2 separate regions of the Homo sapiens genome follow, and region 1 is linked to region 2. The links are contacts of gene promoters, found by promoter capture Hi-C in human tissues and cell types (Jung and others, 2019). All regions are on one chromosome and are shown on one strand. The core of a region is centred on a gene start or on the middle of the fragment in contact, and the rest is flanking DNA. Distances in the headings are between cores, read along the strand shown.

Region 1 (3,471 bases), core at 120-2,619, 210 kb after region 2:
CCAATCACTGTATACTTAAGAGATAGCAATTTACCAGTGGAAGTCTGGCCACATAGGTAGGGTGGACAAGCTGAGCAATACTGGCTGCCCAGTGATATAGTTTGAATGCATGTCCCTGCCCAAATCTCATGTTGAAATGTAATCCTCAATCTTAGAGGTGGGGCCTGGTGGGAGGTGTTTAGATCATCCGGGTGGATCTTTCAATAATAGCCTGGGCCATCCCCTGGGTGATGAATGAGCTCTTGTTCTGAGTTCACATGAGATCTGGTTGTTTAAGAGCATGTGGCACCTCTCCCCATAATACTCTGTCTCTTGCTCCTGCTCTGGTCATGTGACATGCCTACTCCCCCTTTACCTTCCACCATGACTGTAAGCTTCCTGAGGCCTCCTTAGAAGCCAAGCAGATGCCAGCATCAGGCTTCCTGTAAATCCTGCAGAACCATGAGCCAATTAAACCTCTTTTCTTTAGAAATTATCTGGTCTCAGGTATTTCTTTATAGCAATGCAAAACCTGCCTAATATAGAAAATTGGTGCCAGGAGTTGGGTATTGCTATAAAGATACCAGAAAATGTGGAAGCAACTTTGGAACTGAGTAATGGGGACAAGTTGAAAGAGTTTTGAGGGCTCAGAAGAAGACAGGAAGATGAAAGAAAGTTTGGAACTTCTTAGAGACTGGTAAAATGGTTGTGACCACAATGCTGATAGCAGTATGAGCACTGAAGTCTAGGCTGCTAAGGTCTCAGATGGAAATGAGAAACGTATTGGGAAATGGAGCAAAGATTACACGTTATGTCTTAGCTAAGAGCTTGGTTGCTGCCTTCTGTTCTGCCCTAGGGATCTGTAGAAGTTTGAACTTCATAGTAATGATTTAGTGGATCTGGCAGGATAAATTTCTAAGCAGTAAAATGCTTGAGATGTAGCCTGGCTACTTCTATCAGCCTATGCTCAGATGCAGAAGCAAAGGAGTAACTTAAAGATGGGACTTATATTTAAAAGGTAAACAGAGCATAAAAATTTGGAAAATTTTCAGCCTGACCATGTGGCAAATAAAAAAACCAAAAAAAAAAAAAAAAAAGCTTTTTCAACAGAAGAATTCAAGTAGGCTGCAGAGCAACCACTTGCTAGGGAAATTTGCATGAATAAAAAGGAGCCAAGTGCTAATATCCAAGACAATGGGAGAAAGGCCTTGAGGGCATTTCAGAGATCTTCCTGGTCTCTACTCCCATCACAGGCCCTGAGGCCTATGAGGACTAAATGATTTTGTGGGTCAGGCCCAGGGCCCCGCTACCCTGTGCAGCCTCAGGACACTGCTTTCTGCATCTTGGCAGCTCTGGGTACAGCCTGGGCTCAAAGGGGCCCAGGTATAGCTCAGGCTGCAGCTCCAGAGGGTGCAAGCCATAAGCCTTCCACATGGTGTTAAGCCTGCAGGTGCACAGAGTGCAAGAGTTGAGGCTTGGAAGCCTAGATTTCAGAGGATGTATGGAAAAGCCTGGATGTCCATGCAGAAGCCTGCTGCAGGGGTGGAGCCCTCACAGAGAACGTCTACTAGGGCAGTGCTAAGGGGAAATCTGGGGTTGGAGCTGCCACACAGAGTCTCTAATGGGGCAGTACTTAGTGGAGCTGTGAGAAGGGAACCATCCTCTTCCAGACCCTAGAGTGGTAGAGCCACTGACAGCTTGCCTCCTACACCTAGAAAAGCCACAGACACTCAACGACCTGTGCAAGCAGCTGTGGGGGTTGTACCTTGCAAAGCCACAGGGGTGGAGCTCCCCAGGGCCTTAAGAGCCCACCCCTTGCACAGTGTGTCCTCAATGTGGGACATGGAGTCAAAGGAGATTATTTTGTAGTATTAAGATTTAATGACTGCCCTTCTGGGTTTCAACTTTCACGGGGACTGTAATCCCTTTCTTTTGGTCAGTTTTTCTCCTTTTTGGAATAGGAACATTTATCCAGTTCCTCTGCCTCTATTGTATTCTGGAAGTAAATACCTTGTTTTGATTTTACACACTAATAGGTAGAAGGAAAAAACATCTCTAGATAAGAGTTTGGACTTGGGACTTGAACTTTTCAGTTAACACCGGAAATTAGAGTCAAGACTTTGGGGGACTGTTTGTAAGGCATGATTATATTTTGCAATGTGAGAAGGGCATGAGATTGTGGAGGGGTCAGGGGTGGACTTACATAGTTTAAATTTAAGGCCCCACCCAAATCTCATGTTGAAATGTAATCCCCAGTCTTGGAGGTGGGGCCTGATGGGTGGTGATTGGGTCATGGAGGAGGATCCCTCATGAATGCCTTGGACCATCCCTTTGGTGATGAGTGAGCTCTTGCTTTGAGTTCACATGAGATCTGGTCATTTCAGAGTGTGTGGCACCCCTCCAGCCCCTCACTTTCTCCTGCTTTCACCATGTGCCATGCCTGCTCCCCCTTTGCCCTCTGCCATGATTGTAAGCTTCCTGAGGTCTTCCCAGAAACTGAGAAGATGCCAGCACCATGCTTCCTGTAAAGTCTGCAGAGCCATGAATGAGTTAAACCTCTTTTCTTTATAAATTACCCAGTCTTGAGTATTTCTTTATAGCAATGCAAGAATGGCCTAAGACACCCAGTTAAATTTGAATTTCAGATGAACAAGGAGAAATATGCTATATAGACATGTCCCACGGAATCAGGCAAGCCCATGTGGGGCAGGCTCAGGACTGTGCACCAGGCTGGCTCTCTGCTCGCCCACACTTCCTGGTTTCTACACAGGTGGGTTTGGCCATGTGACTCGTCCTGATGAGGTGTGAGCAGAAGTGACATGTGTCACTTAAGCAGAGGCAGGATCCTCCCACATCTGTCTCATGGACAACACAATGGTACCCATCCCCTGGACTCTGAGTGACTGCGTGGAGCCGAGTGTGCAGACTCAGAAGGAGGAGGTATGTCCTGGCCCAGCCTTCCATGCCCACCTCCTGTGGGATGACGGAGCTGGACCAGCTGCTCCACAGCTGTTATTGGCAGAATCCCTCAAGAGAAAGGTAATTATTGACTGCTCACATAGGAGGCCCAGAGCATGGCGCCCCTGGGCAAAAAGTTAGGGGATGATGCAAAGCTCCAACAGGCAATGCCGGCTCCTTGGAGTGGCTCAGCTTGGCTCACATGTGGCTCTTCCTCGGAACAGTGTCCTTCCATCCCCTCCAACAGAATGGCCACCTCATCTGTCACAGAGTCCCCACATGTGGCCCTGCTGGAGCTGCCTCCCCCTCTAGAGGTGGAAGCATGGTCCCTGGAAATGGCAGATCCTCAGAAGCTGGGTGGGGAGCCTGAAATGTCTCCTTCTGCCACTTGATAAGGCAAATGATGGGTTTGTTTCTAGAGAAATCTTATCCCCACCTCCTAAAATCTTAAATCGGTTGCCGGGTACCCAGAACCTGAAAATACAAGCCTGACATGGATGGGCTTTCCACTGAGATGTCTCTGGGGGAGAGATA
Region 2 (3,849 bases), core at 809-3,308:
TCTAGCCCCACAGCTGCCATCTTCAGTCTCCCATTCGTTTTCCCCTTCCCTCCGACAGTCGCCCTGGCCCCCTCAGTGGCAGGGGGAGCCCAAGCTCTTGCTCCCCTAAGGACTTGGCACATTTGCTTCTGCTGCCTGGAACCCTCACTCTCAGCCTAAATGATTCCTCTCCTGAGAAGCTTTCCCTGATCACCGGCTGGAGCAGTACCTTGCCCATCCCATTTCTTAAAGCATGCATTTTGTTTGTGTCTTTGGGTGCTCCAAAGGGGCAGGGCCTGACTTTCTTGTCACTGAGGCACCCCAGCCCCAGCACAGCCTCACCCCATCATGGCAGGACATAACCATGTGGGGAGGGAGTGGCGGGGGCAGCTTTCACCCTGGCTCTGCAGGGGCCATGCCGTCCTCCTACCTTGGGGTTCGCTGCCGGTGGGATGGGCCTCGAGGGCCCGGCTGCATGCTGCCAGGCAGTCCTCAAACCTGCCGCTGTGGAGCAGAGCTTCAGGTGACAGGGTGTCACTCCGGGTGCCCCTGGGGTCCAGAGCCGCCAGGAGTCGCTGGCCACCGGTCTCCTGCTGGCCGGCACTGTGCCCAGCCTCCGGGTGCCCCGAGAGGTAGTCCTGGAGGGCACTGAGCAGCGCGGGGAGGTGGGGCCGCTGGTGGGTGCGAATGAAAGCTACCGTCCGGTCGGCGCTGGAGGCGAAGGCCTGGAGATAGGCGGCCACACCATCCGCTGCCTGCACCCCGGACAGGACCCAGGCGAGGGCGCGGGTCAGCCGCAGCTCCAGGACTTGCTGTGCATGAGAGTCCAGCAGGGCGCTGCAGCGTTGCACCACTTCTTCGTGACGCCCGCGGGCCAGCAGACCTGCCAGCAGGTGCAGGATGGCGGCGGGGTGGTCCGGGCAGAGGGCGCCGAGGAAGGCAGAGGCCAGCGACCCTGTCAGGGAGACCACTGCCATGCCGTCCCAGTGGATGGCGGGGATCTGGCTGTCCCCGCGGCACCAGGACTCCAGGGTGGCCACCACCGCCGCCCCCCGAGCCTGGGCCAGGGCAGTGCGCACACTCTGCAGGGCTGAGGGGGCGTGGCAGCTGAATGCAGCCAGGTAGAAGGCGGTGGCCAGGGGCAGCTCCCCCAGCGCCAGATGCTGCTCCCCCTCCCGGCAGAGGCAGGCCACGAGCTCCTGGGCTGACATCATGTCTGGGACCCCGACGGGCCCATGTCTGGTCCTCAGAGTACCTGGGGGTGGGGGAGCATGGTGAGTCCACAGAGGGCGGCCAGTTCTCCTGCCCTGTGGCCACCCGTGCCCAGCCTCAAGCCACCTCCACCCCTTCCCATTGACCCCACGGTCAGTGCAGACCCCACTGGGTGAAAACTGGGGGGATCCTGGGCTGGTGGGGTGGGGCCTACCAGGTGTCCCAGGCCAACTTCCAGCCCACTGTTCACCTCTGGGGCCTCAGTTTCGTGCCTTGCAGAATGGGACAGTGGCCTCCCCCAGCTCAGTTCCCTCTAAGAACATCTGACCCCTGAGTGTCCATGTCGGGAGGGTTACGGTGGCCCGAGGTGTCAGGGCCCAGCAATAGGAACCCCGGACCCACCCTCTGCCCCTCCCAACCCTGAGCCCCTCAGGAAGGCACACCCCCCGTCAGTCCAGGCAGCCCTCTCAGTGGGACGCAGGACCACACCCCTGCCCACCCTCTCACACCTGGGCCATTCGAGGGGGGCGCCGAGAGCACCTGCCAGGCCCTTGGGTCGGGGGAGCCACCCCAGCCCATGGGTGGGGGGGTTCAGTTTTGAGGTTGAGGTTCCAGGGACAGCCCCTGGTACTCCCCTATTCCCTGTCCCCAAGCTACTTGACCTGACGAACTAGCTCCGCACAGCCCTTTCTTCCCTCATCAAACAGGCAGCCCCCAGCATCCGCTCTCAGACACACACAGACACACTCACACTCGTCTGCAGCTTGGAGGCTGAGCCGGCTGTGCCCTGGGGACCCAGATTCCCTCGTGGGTGGTGGGGGACAGAGGGATGTGGCTGGCTGGAGGGCCCAGGCCTGGGTGGGGCTCCTATGACCGCCCCGTGTGGGTTGGGGAAGGCACAGCCTGCGGTTTCCCGGGAGAGTGTCAACACCCTTGGGTCTCCTGGCTGTCCTGCAGCGCCCCGCTGTGGCCAGAGGCTACCAGGCCGAGGTCCCACCCACACTGCCCCAGCCAGGCTCCAATGGGCTGCCTCAGAGCAGAGAACCCTGAGTTCATGGGGGTGTTGGGGGAGAAGGGGCCTGTGGGGTACAGCCCCCCATAGCCGGGGCCAGCCTCCACCCTGCCTGCTCTGCCAGGGTGCCCCCAGCCTCCTCTCCACATAGATGAGGAGGGCGCTTCCTGGAGGCAGGTGGGGGCCGCCTGCCCACCCAGTGCACTCAGGCTCTGGGTTTGTCCCCCAGAACTCCGCCTGGGCTGCTATGCGGGCCCCTCACCGCCCAGCCTCACTCCTCTTCTGGCAGGGCCCTGTCACCCGGTCCTGGGGCACCTCCCCACAGGCTGTTCCCTGTGCCGGCAGCTGGGACTGGACCTTCCGTGCACAGCCAGCCCATTTCCCTTGGCCGTCCTCCCTCTGAGAGGCTTAGGCAGCCCTGTCCTGCCTGCACCAGCTGAGCCAGCTGTGCCCTGGGGAGGGCAGGGCACATTAGCCGAGGGCACACCCCTCCCCCATCACAGGGTTGAGGCCCAGAGGCAGCTCTGGGAGCCATGACCTGAGCCTACTGCCCAGGGACCCTGATTGTTGCTGAGGAAGGGGTGGCAGCATAGGGACTATTTTAGGAAACATCACCTTCAGCCCGTGGCCACCGTCAGCCCATGCCGCAGGAGCAGAAAGACTGAGTGGGGTGGCTGGAGGCAGGCTCAGGTCCCTGAAGCTGAGACCCCACCACCGGCAGCTGCCCTGGAGGGCAGGCATGAGTGGGGGGAATGGGGGTGGTGCGTCCCTGAGAGAGGTCCCTCCCAATTCAGGATGCCAAGGTGCCCGGACACCAGGCCAATGCTGGCTCCTCTGTGGGGCTCAGGGAAGCAGGGTTGGGGGTGCCCTTTGGGGGAGGAGATCTTGGGAGTGGGGGGTGGCATCCCTGATCCCCTCGATGTCTGGGTCTCCTGAGACATGCCCCGCAGGCCCTTTGGGGAGGGTGTGGAGCCCCTGCAGCGTGGGCAGAGCAGTCAGGGTCAGTCTGAGGGTGCAGGGCAGGGGGGTCAGCAGGGCTGGGGCTGCCTGGCCCAGTTCTTCAGCTCCATGACATTCACCAGGGCCCAAGGCCTGTGCGGGTAATGCAGTGGGGGCAGTTTATTAAGAGATTGCCCATTACTCGGTGTTGATTACTTTCATTTTAATTGCCCTAATTAGGCGAGAGCTGTAATGGAGTGGGGCTGTCACCAGGGCTGTAGAAGAGCCCGGGGCACAGAGGTGGCAGGTCTGCGCGACAGTTGCCATCACAGCAGTGCCGATGGGCCCCCTGCGTCTCTGCCCTGTGCACAGTGCCCTGCCCGGGGCCCACAGGCACTGGCCAGATGAGCCTGGAAGTCTCGGAGGGTCCCGAGCTATGATCACAGCCCCTGCCTGAGAGCAGCACACCTGGATGCAGGTAATCCCAGGGCCGCCTCCACGCCACCTCCCAATCCGCACTCTCGTCTCTGATTCTGCCACAGACAAAAGTGGGCGGCTGAGCCGGACAGGGAGGCCGAGGCCGGTGCCTGGTAGTCTCAGGGTCTCGTGTTCGGGTTTGTGCTGCTTTAGTTTATGAGTCAAAAGGATTTCCAACATTTCCAACTTGAGGCTAGCGGGGGGCGGGGGATACTGCTCATTTGCCCTCT

Evidence for each region. Contacts are between HindIII fragments. The study calls those that stand out against the background at their distance.
Region 1: a fragment that was not itself captured here is called in contact with the fragment with the promoter of TTC34 in region 2 in 2 of the 25 tissues and cell types used here (H1 embryonic stem cells and dorsolateral prefrontal cortex).

What each region holds. Positions count from the first base shown.
Region 1 is chr1:3,006,213-3,009,683 of GRCh38, forward strand. No RefSeq gene overlaps it. Among named protein-coding and RNA genes, the nearest start is that of ACTRT2, 14 kb to the right of the region's middle. The HindIII fragment of the contact is 4,575 bases long and covers 1-3,471 here.
Region 2 is chr1:2,799,635-2,803,483 of GRCh38, forward strand. It overlaps TTC34 (tetratricopeptide repeat domain 34), which reads right to left and starts at 2,059. Exons shown (of 9, transcript NM_001242672.3): 1 at 1,943-2,059; 2 at 410-1,234. The coding sequence starts at 1,193. The HindIII fragment of the contact is 12,605 bases long and covers 1-3,849 here.